Linked DNA regions of Homo sapiens: regions 1 and 3 are each linked to region 2. The links are contacts of gene promoters, found by promoter capture Hi-C in blood cells and fetal thymus (Javierre and others, 2016). All regions are on one chromosome and are shown on one strand. The core of a region is centred on a gene start or on the middle of the fragment in contact, and the rest is flanking DNA. Distances in the headings are between cores, read along the strand shown.

Region 1 (3,274 bases), core at 104-2,603, 480 kb before region 2:
CGTACAGAAACACAGTTTTTATATTACAACCTCAAGGACAGGGAGGGAAGTGTTCGCCGCTAGACATGACACACCATACTGCTTTTCCAAAACACACGGGACATGAAAGCGAGGTGGTGCCTTCTAGACGAGAGGACAGCTGTAGTGTGGACCTCCCCCGCACATGCGATACCTCGGGCCGGGCGGTGTGACCTCACAGGCCCACTTATGGCACTTGCAGTTTGGGATTGCTCATTTGGCTCTAGGAAGCGGTGGTGTCTGAGTGTGATACTTCCCTTACGAGGTTTGTTTTTGTTTTCTTTCTGTTCTGTAGCCAAACCAATTTACCAGCCCGTCTTCCAGATGCAGGTGATCTTACTCTCAGTAAACAAAAACATGTAACCTTTTTCCTGTTTCTCTTGGGTGGTAATAATTTTAGGGCATTTGATAAGAGTTTGACTTCAGAAAAAGAACAAAGTGAAGAAATGTTCAGCTCCATCTCAGGTGTTCACATTTGTGCATAACTTTTATTGAAAGGCTGACAGGGTAGGCTAGCGGAACGGAGGGGTGTGTGGAGGAGAGTAGCAGGGGGTGGGAGGGTCAAGTTGAAACAGTGGGTGCCTGCGAAGGGTCTCCCTATTAGCCAGGAAGGGAACAGCACAGAGGGGTTCAAGCGTGACAGACGGTGCTGGGAAGTGGGCAGCCGTAGCAGCCTCCCCTGCTGAGCCCGGCGGGCCCAGATGCGTATCAGGCTTGGGTGGGTCCTGCCACCTTGCTCACTTGGTACCGGATTTCCCGGGGCTGTGCCCACAGGGAAGTGTTGCTGCTCTGGCAACATTTCATAAAGGTGTTGCTCAACAGCTTCAGGTATCCCTAGGCTGAAGCTGCCACCAAACAGGCACCCGGCCTCCTCCTCCTCAGGCTGCCCTGGGAGGAGAGCTGTGGGACCGCCTCGCCGGCTGAGAGCCATTACCTGCCGACCGTCGGCAAGTCAGCCTCACACCCACTGGACTCTGCTCCCAAGAGCCCAGGCTGTTTTCCTCAAAGCTAGCCTCTTTTCCAGTCATCGATGGATTAGTCCTGATGGCTGAAGTGCTGAGCAGTGTCTTCGTTGGACCAGTTTTTTATTGTCATTTGAGGTGGAGATCAGAGATCATGACCAGAAGAGTGTGAGTGCTGTCCCTTGCCACCAACTTCCTAGAGATTTCGGGCAGCACTCTACAGCTTCAATTTCCAAAAAAAAAAAAAAGTTTACACGACCAGTGAGACTGCTCGCAACTTTCATCACTTAGCATATCCTTCCACAACACAGTACAGTAAGTGGACTGCAGGGTGGCCTGGTGCTGAGGGTGATGGGTGCAGACGTACACCTGTCCAGGTGCAGGCTCAGGGGCCTCGCTGGATCCTTCCCACCTTCCCCAACTGCCTACTGGCCTGGCTACTGGATAGGTCCTATTCTGTACATAATGGGGGTTTGTTGACAGGTGGCTTTATAGCAAGTACTCCAAAAAAGGTAAAAGGAATTTCACAAGTTTGGCACGCAAAGGCTGCACAGATCTAAAGAAAGGCCTTTGTAAAGGTGAATGCAAACTAATGTTGAAACATGGAAATGTGACTTTAAAAAAGAGGGAAGGTGAGGAGCTGGACGTGGAGCAAGTGGAGGCAGGGAGAGGCTGGCCAGACAGCCTCCCTTCCTGGGTATCTCAAGATCCCAGGTGTCGGCGTGGTCCAGCCACTGGAAACACGTGGCCAAGAGTCTGCTTGCCCCTTGCTGTGTCTTTACACATCTCCAGGCCCTTACTGATGTGTGGACCGCATGTGGAGGAGACATGAGTGGCGACAGCAAGCAGCAGGCCGGGTGGAAAGCCAGAAGGGGAGAAGGTCAACCCCTTTTCTGCCCTGTGAATTCTAGCAACTGTCGGTTGGAAGTCACTTCATTGTCTCACCCAGGCCCGAGACCACAATTTCCCTGGAAGGACACAGCCCATGGCAAAGACATGCTTCGAGAAGGGATGAGTTGGACAATGCCAGTAAGAAGCCAGGCTGTCCAGAAAAGCTGGTGCCCAAGTTGCTACAAAGTGGTGCCTGCCCTTGCCAAGGAGGCTGTCTCTTAGTCGCCTTGGGTGTCCTACAAGTTTCCTCCGAAAATGCCAAGAGGAAACCTCCACTTTCTGGGGTGAAACGAGGAACACGAAGAGACCCATGGAGGTCGAGGCAGGGGCAGCGTTGAGCTTTGGTGAGTTATTGCTTTCTTTCAATTTGTCTTGATGCCTTCGAGAGGCTGGAGGTCATTTGGACTCACCTATGAGGAATCTCCGCTCCCTGCCCGAAGCCCCACCTCTGTGCTATGCGAGTGACTGCAAGCAGGAAGCTGGCCCAGGAAGGCAGGCGTGAGGGGGCCCAGCTCCTGCGGGTGCTCCCTGGAGTGATGTCTGAGGTGACGGCCATCCAAGCTGGTGATCTTCATGGTGTGTGCTCAAGGTGTGGGTGACGGGCGTGTGTGTGTGGAGGGCAGCCCCCCTTCTGTGGATTTGCCTCTGCCATCTTTTTGAGTTATTTTCTAATGGTTTGTAGCTTAGAAAGTAGCCATGTTTTCAAGTAGTGCCGGCACAAGAGCTGCCTGTGCACGAGGGACTTTTCTGCTGGAGCCAATCTGGGAGAGGAGGAATAAAAACGAGCACATCTCAGGTCTCGACGCATCTGTTAGCTGTGTACTCACAAAGCTGTGGCGATATGACTGCTGCTCAATTAAGATTTCTGGTGAAATGTTTAAGCTTTTTCTCCAAGAGCTTCCAGCATCAAGTACAAAAGGATGATCCTGAAGGAAAGATGAAGCTGGTTTTAACGGCGTCTGTGAGCTGCTTTCCCTGCACACGAACAGAAGCTCTTACCTTACAAACAGAAAGGGAAAAAGGACCTTAAAAAACCATACACAGACTCTAGCAAAAGCCAAATTCATGTACATTTCACTCCGTCTAAAATGCAGTCCCGGAAACGCTCCACGGTCCTCTCCTGCCTCTGCACGCAGGCAGGCAGCCTGGGGGGCTCCTGGGTGCTGCCAGGAGCCGTGTCCCATCTCCCCAGAGGGACCGGCCATGGCCCTGGTCACTGTGGCATCTTCCCAGAGCAACTGCGTCTCGCTGCCCAGGGAGGTGATTCCATTTGTGATCAGTGAGAGGGAGAGGGAATAAAGTGCTTCTCGTAAAAATGACCAAAATAAATACACACATTTAACGGCAGAAAAGAAAGTCTTGAAAGGGTTATTTCCAAAGAGTTTGTCTCCTCCGACCCGCGC
Region 2 (3,403 bases), core at 660-3,159:
GGGGTCACGGAGCTCAGACGCCTGACCACAGTGAAGCTCAGGGACTCCAGTGTATTTAAGCCTCGTTCCAGGAAAGGTCATTGAATAAACCGCTGTTCCTTCACGATGCTTTCCTGATTTGGGCATTGATTTGTTAAATTTAAAATATCATAACAAACAGCAAATCCAAGGAAAACTGCTTCCATGCTTGAAATAACACCCAACTGTCTGGAGAACAGCTATAAATGTGAGGCTCTGGGGAGCAGAGGGAGGCCTGAAAGGCGGGCCTTCTCGCTCAGGGCCCCAACTCGCTGGCTGTGGGAGCCCTTCCAAAAGATGTGTCATGAGAACTAAGCTAATTATCCACGTAATTCTCACACTGGGGTTGGGGCCATCGCCAGGGGAAAGCACAGGTTATCTCAAGAACGCAGCCAGATAGGAGGCTGGGGAGACTTGGACGGGCCACCTTCTGCTTCAGTAACTTGGCCCCAAGCTTTCAGGAGGTCTCTGCTTAGAGGAGGACTGCAGAAAAGAAGGCTGCTGGGCCACTGTCCCAATGTTCCGAGCTACAGGTGGTCACCCATGGAGGGGGGTGGGACCTGCTCGGAAGTCCTCCAGTCTTCCCGCCCCTTCTCCCCTCCCGGCCCTCCCAGGCGGCCCCTCTCCTCGGCCTGCCCCCTCCACCCCGCAATTCTTCCCGTCTCAATTCCAGTCCCTCTCTCTTGCGTCCTCCCGGCTTCCACCCCCTCAGCCTGGCCTCCAAAAGAAAGATCGGGCAGAGCGGTAGGAAAAGGGAAGCCACCGCGGTTTCTGAAAACAAGAATTCCCGCGAGCCAGGACGGTCACGAGGCCGGGGAGGAGGCGGCGCAGCTGATCAAACGCGAATGGGGACCAGCCCTGGCGGGGGTGCGGGGGGGCCCTGGCTGTCCGCGGCAGCCGCGGGCGGGGCGGCCGCTCCGAGGAGGGACGGAAGGGCTGCGTGGCACCTCGCGCTCGAAGACCAGGGGCGCGCCCTCCGCGGGGAGAACTCGGGGCGGCGGCCAGACCCGACGCGACCCCCGGCTCGGACCCTGCAGTTAACTGCTCCCAGACGCTTTCCCAGTGCGCCCGCCCGCCGGCCCTCGGGAGGTACCGGGCAGGGGGCTAGGGCCGGGCCGACCCTGTGAGCCGCTCAGCCCCGGGCGCCCCCGCCCTCCTCGGAAGTGACTCGTCCTCAGGGAGAGTCCGGCGCCCGCCCTGCCGGCCTCGGCCCCTTTCCCGCCCCATTTGGCTCCTCCGCCGGGGGCGCCCCCAGGCTGGGCAGGCTGGCTCCCCGTCCCCCTAACCCCGCCGCCCGGGCACCCCTCGTCTGCGGGCGCGGGGTCCAAGTGTCCCCTGTCCAGGGCGGGCAGAAAGGAGAAGTCGCAATCTCGGTTGAAGTCTCTTCCCCGCCTCCTTCGTGCACTTCAAGGCTGCCTCGGCCCCGCGCCCCTCCCGCGTCCCCGGCCCCGCACCTTGCCGCAGCGGCCCCTGCGCCAGTTCGGACCGGTCCTCGGGAAAGGCGTCGCGCAGGCGCTGCCACAGGCGGCCCAGGTCCGCCAGGCTGCGGTGCAGGTAGAGCACGCTGCGGTCCGACCACTCCGTGCGGATCTCGAAGAACTCCTCTTCGTCGCCGCGCCGGCTGACGATGAGCCTGCGGATGCCGTTCACCCAGCAGCCGCGCACGAACATGTTCACGAGCGACGTGCCCTCAAACACCGCCGAGGCCATGTCGCACGCATGCCCCCGCCAAGGGCTCCCCAGCCCCGCCGCCCGCCCGCCCGCAGGAGGCGCGCCCCGGCCGGGGTCGTCCCGGGTCTGTCCGTGGCCGGGGTCGTCCGGGGTCGGCCCGTCACTCCAAGGAGGCTGCGTATGGCCCGCGTTCGGGGCAGCGGGGCGGCGCGGCGGCGAGTGGCTCGGGCCGGCCGGGCGCGGCTTTATAAGGCGCTTCCCATCGCGGGCGGCGCGGTAGTCGACGTCGAGGTTAGGCCGCGTCCGCCTCCCGCCCGCCTCCCGCGGAACGGGCGCCGCGGGCCGCTCTGGAAAGGAAGAGGTCCGGCTGGCCGCGCCCCCGCCGCCTCCGCAGAGACCGCGCTGCCGCGGCCACGAGAACCCCCGGAGCCGGGAGCCGGGCCGAGTCCCAAGCGCTCGCCCCCGCCTCGCGCCCCCCGCGCCTCCTCCCTCGCGGCCCCGGAGCCGCAGGTCGGTGACTGGACCAGCCGGGAAGGGAGGCGGGGCGGGCCCTGCTTGCCAGGCGCTCGGCGCAGACTTTTTTCTCTTTCCGTTTCGCGATCCTCGGGACCTCCCAGGGCTAGGAGCTGCGCGCCCCACCCGGCCCGCGAGGGGATGGCAACTACCCGGGGTCCGGAGGCGGGGCTGCGAGTGTCGGGGCGGGGGGCGCGGGCCGGGTCGAGCACCGCCCCGACGAGGGCCCAGGCCAGTCCGGCCCGCCCCGGGTTCCCTCCGTGCCTCAGGTCCCCTCCGTGCCCCGCGTCCTCCCGCGCATTCCGGTCATGCCTCAGCCGCGCCAAGGCCTGGGACACGGCCGGACAGACCGCGGGGCAGCCCTCGGAGAAGTGGGAAGAGGGGAGAAAACAGTGGCGAAAAGAAGGTCTCCTGGGAAGGAGCGCCCTGGGAAGCTGGACGCGGTGGGTGCTCTTGAGGGGCCTCAGGAGTGGACTTGGGGAAACCGCCCGCCCTGAAAACTGACTCAGCGGCGCGTTACTGAGGCCGTTCCTAGTTGGAAGAGAATTAATAGCACTTGTTTGAGAATTACAAGTTAGTTCCAGAAATGAATCGAGTGACCTCACAGCCCGTAGGCAGGGGTGGGAGAGCCAGGGTGAGCCCCTCACCTCACCCCGCCCCCGCCCCGGCAGCGCTCTGGAAAGCCTCAAAGCCCAGCGCTGCGCGGAAATGTTAGAGGCCCAAGGCAGGTGGCCTGTCTGGACTCAGACCCGACCCAGATGTCCCCCCAGGTCCCTACCACTCAGTCCCACCTGCCTCGACTCAGTCCCGACCCAGATGACCACCCCCCCCCCGCCCCCACCACGACCAACTTTTATTCCGACTGCGCCAGTGACTTGCAGATAGCATAGCTTCAAATTTCCTCACCTGGTCTGGGGCGGTGAACAGGTCAAGATGGAGAGTGTCAAGAGAGACTTTTGCTTTGTCTATGATGTTTTTATATACACTTGCTAATTAAATGAACGCATATGTTTCCTGTGTAATTTTGTATAGGGGAATAGGGGCCGTGGGAACTGGAAGTAAACAGCCAGTGTGCCAGCAGCTCTTGACTCTAGGTGGTGGGAATAAGTGCCGTTGTAACCACAGTACCAGCCCAAACGGGGCTTACTCTGTTTGTAACAATGTTGAGTTACCTTGCAGGTATAACAGAGCCAAAAACTCT
Region 3 (3,412 bases), core at 420-2,919, 460 kb before region 2:
AGACAGGTGTGGGCACAAGAGCAGTGAGTCCTTTTGTTAAAACACACACTTTCATGGGAATCCTCCAAGACAAAGCGCTTTCCAGGTACTGACTCATTTAACCCAGGGCCGCAATCCAACAGCCACTGCACACCCACTTCACAGGGGCAGGGGGGCAGAGCAGCTCGCACGAGGCTCTCGGCGGGTAAGCGGCAACTCAGAGACGCAGCTTTTCTGGGCACTTAGGGTTCTGGAAGGGTGGAGATCTATCCATACCAGCCTCAACTCCACCCACACAGCCTGGAGGAGTCGGGCAGAAGCCAGGCCAATGGAAGACATATAGGGTCCACAGGAAACTGTTTTTTTTTTTGTTTTGTTTTGTTTTTGAGTAGAGCCGTGTTCTGCTACCCAAGCTGGAGTGCAGTGGCAAGATCTCAGCTCACTGCAACCTCCCCCTCCCTGGTTCAAGTGATTCTCCTGCTTCAGCCTCCCAAGTAGCTGGGATTACAGGCACCTGCCACCATGCCCAGCTAATTTTTGTATTTTTTGGTAGAGACAGGGTTTCACCATGTTGGACAGGCTGGCCTCGAACTCCTGATCTCAAGTGATCCGCCTGCCTTGGCTTCCCAAAGTGTTGGGATTACAGGTGTGAGCCACCGCACCCGGCCTCCGTTTTGATTCTTAATTTATCCCTGTTTCCCCTCCACTGCCCTGGGTCAAGCTTCTTTATTGCCCCACACGAGCGTATCAACCTGCTGGAAAAACGTGTCTGCCCTGAAAACAGGAACAAAGGCGTGGCTGCACCCTCCCACGGAGGCTGCTGATGGCCATCCATGGGGTGCCTCAGGGCTCTCAGGAACCTTTGGGGTGTACCTGTGATGCACCCGTGGTGCCTCGAGGGACCCTTCTTATGTCTGCTCTTGGCAACCATCCCAGAGCCAAAAACTGCCCCCTTCTCTCCCCAAACACCCTTTCGTGCTTCAGGGAAATCTACGTCCTTCTCATCTAACCTTGAGAATGCATCAAGGTCAACTGTAACAGACCCCGTCCCTGCCCCATAGGGGGAAGCCACCCCTTGCCAGGTGAATGCCTTTCCTCTTGGGAAATAGGCAGAGGCCCCAGCCCCCGCACAATGGCTTTATAATCCAGCAACTGATTTGGTTCAGTTAGCCTCCAGAGTTCCTCTTCTGGCCTGCTGAGATAGCAGGGCAATCTCCTACCTTCTTGCTCTGGTAGAAATGAAGTCTCCCCTGACCACAACAGGTCATCTGAAGATAACAGAGCCAGAGAGCTCGGTTCCCCGTCTCCACAAAACGAATCATTAAAATGGAAACTCACCATCTTATGTCAAATTTCATGTTTTTTTCCAACATAAAATGTAGAGAAGCCGTTCAACTCCTAACAGTGCCGCCAGCTCACCCAGCATCTACCTGAACCAGGCAGCAGCAGAGTGGCCAAGGCTGAGGCCCTGGGCTTGGCCTGATGTGGCCGTGGCCGGTCCCTGGCCTTGGTCTCTCTCCTGAGCTCAGGATGAGGCTCTACTGTTGTTTGGGCAGTAGAGCCTCTTGTACTCCTCACAAATCAATTTCAACCCAGAACCCCAATATGGAGAACTGATGAGCTGCTTTGACAGAAAAAGCCATGGGGGATGCTTGGCCCCTCGCCCTCACCCTGGGCCTGTCTTTACCTGGTGGCAGCTCGAGACCTTTCACAAATGAGTGCAACACCCCAGGTGACCTCTAACCCAAATGAGTCAAATCCCTTCCCTCCGCCACCTTGGTGACCTCTGACCCTGAACAAGGGACCACCTTGCACAGTCAGGGCCACTGAGCTCAAGACAGGAGTGACCTTCTAGGTACACACCAAGTCCAGGGACTGGGCTGCAAAGAACCTGCGTGAGTGATGCCCCCAGCCCCTGCAGGACCCAGCAGGCGGGGCGACCTGGGCCGGTGAGGGCCCTGGGAGGAGGTCTGCGCTCACTGGCCTGGCTCAGGCCCACCTGCCTCCACCCACGGCTGTCCTGGGGCCTTTGGCCAGGCTGGCTGCAGGTTCAGGAAGGGCGGGGCCGGCTACAGGCAGGGGCCAAGGCCTCATGGGTCTCAAATCCCCTGTCCTGAGACAGGGCCCAGAATTTCCAGCCTTGTGGCATCCCCCACTGTGCCCCTGAGGAGGTGCGTCCATGTGCATCTTGGTTTCCTGGACCTCATGGGCACGTGGTGGGGAGGCCCTGCTCACAGGATTTACACGCCTGGGCTGGGGGGCACCGGCTGCTTGAGGCTTCCGGGAGCGGGGGAGGTCAATATCTTCTAGCCCGTGTCACTCTTCACACACACACCCTTAGGATTCCAAGTTCAGCGGGGTGGGGAGCAGGGCCCTGGGCTTCACCACTCCCCACCTTCTTCCCTGGCCCCCTCCCACCCAGCTGGCACTTGTCCTCTGTGACTCACGAGTTCACACACAGGACCACAATGTTCTTCCACAGGTTCCGTGTCCCCACCACCTTCACGATGCAGACCTTCTTGGGCCTCCGGGAAAGCTCTTTCTCCAGCTCTGCAAAGAAACAGACCCTGTGAGCCCTGGGCAGGCCGCCCACAGAGGACAGGACAGCAGCTGCAGTCACAGCCCTGGTTCCCCAGTTCGGGTACCACAGAAGGGAGAGAGAAGCTTTTTTTTTTTTTTTTTTTTTGCCAGTGGATAGGGTCTAGGTTTCCAGGATAGAAAGGCACTCATAAGACCCCAGCTTTGCAGTTCAGGTTTCGCTCGGGTGCCTGAGAGGGCACCAAGGTGCACCGTCAGCAGAAGTTTCCATCACAAACCCTTGTTTTGGAACCAGTCAGAGTGCACACAAACGGTCTCGACTCAGTTCACTTTTGTCTGAGTACAGAGCTCAGCGATGATATTCTAGGTTACTGAGGCACTCATTAGGCCCTGGGCAAATCTAAACATGCAGTTCTTTTCCGTACACTCTACATCTGCCTGTGTCACCCCCGGCTCGGAGACTGGGAAGGCCACATGCAGATATGCTTCTTAGCCTTGTGGGGTGGAACTATGGCTGTAGCTACTTCTGCTGAAACTGCCCTTAGGACATCATATGCATCTTTGAAAGCCAAATACATAAGTGAACACATCTGCGTGTATGTGTATACACCATACATGCACACATTCATACGCATGCATATACGTGTGCATGTTTTAGTTAACAGAAGTCCTTGGGGGCTGGACAATATTTTGGCTCCAAGGGATGTGAGCAACTATAAAGTCATGAGACTGAGTTTCTTGTGCGGCTCCAGCGGCTCTGAAAGCCCCTCTGAAGGGAGTCCACCAGCGCACAGTGTTACATTCACCAGGCCAAGGGGTCTGCAGAGGTGCTGGTGTTGATCTGGCAATTTACAGGGAAGATTCAGAATGGTGGGGGTGCTGGCCTCCAGGAGCT

The links. The method cuts DNA at HindIII sites, captures the fragments that hold promoters and counts their contacts. A CHiCAGO score of 5 or more calls a contact.
Region 1: a fragment that was not itself captured here is called in contact with the fragment with the promoter of PXDC1 in region 2 in 5 of 17 cell types (naive CD8 T cells, erythroblasts, naive B cells and 2 more); the score reaches 7.0 in naive CD8 T cells.
Region 3: a contact is called between a fragment that was not itself captured here and the fragment with the promoter of PXDC1 in region 2, in 9 of 17 cell types (naive CD4 T cells, total CD4 T cells, total CD8 T cells and 6 more). The highest score is 7.1, in naive CD4 T cells.

What each region holds. Positions count from the first base shown.
Region 1 is chr6:3,269,622-3,272,895 of GRCh38, forward strand. It overlaps SLC22A23 (solute carrier family 22 member 23), which reads right to left. Exons shown (of 10, transcript NM_015482.2): 10 at 1-3,274. Among named protein-coding and RNA genes, the nearest start is that of PSMG4, 12 kb to the left of the region's middle. The HindIII fragment of the contact is 2,795 bases long and covers 1-2,751 here.
Region 2 is chr6:3,749,804-3,753,206 of GRCh38, forward strand. PXDC1 (PX domain containing 1) reads right to left here and starts at 1,910. Exons shown (of 5, transcript NM_183373.4): 1 at 1,473-1,910. The coding sequence starts at 1,728. RefSeq lists silencers at 1,134-1,213, 1,964-2,203, 2,254-2,423. The HindIII fragment of the contact is 5,359 bases long and covers 471-3,403 here.
Region 3 is chr6:3,287,338-3,290,749 of GRCh38, forward strand. It overlaps SLC22A23 (solute carrier family 22 member 23), which reads right to left. Exons shown (of 10, transcript NM_015482.2): 6 at 2,427-2,529. Among named protein-coding and RNA genes, the nearest start is that of PSMG4, 30 kb to the left of the region's middle. RefSeq lists an enhancer at 1-119. The HindIII fragment of the contact is 1,943 bases long and covers 699-2,641 here.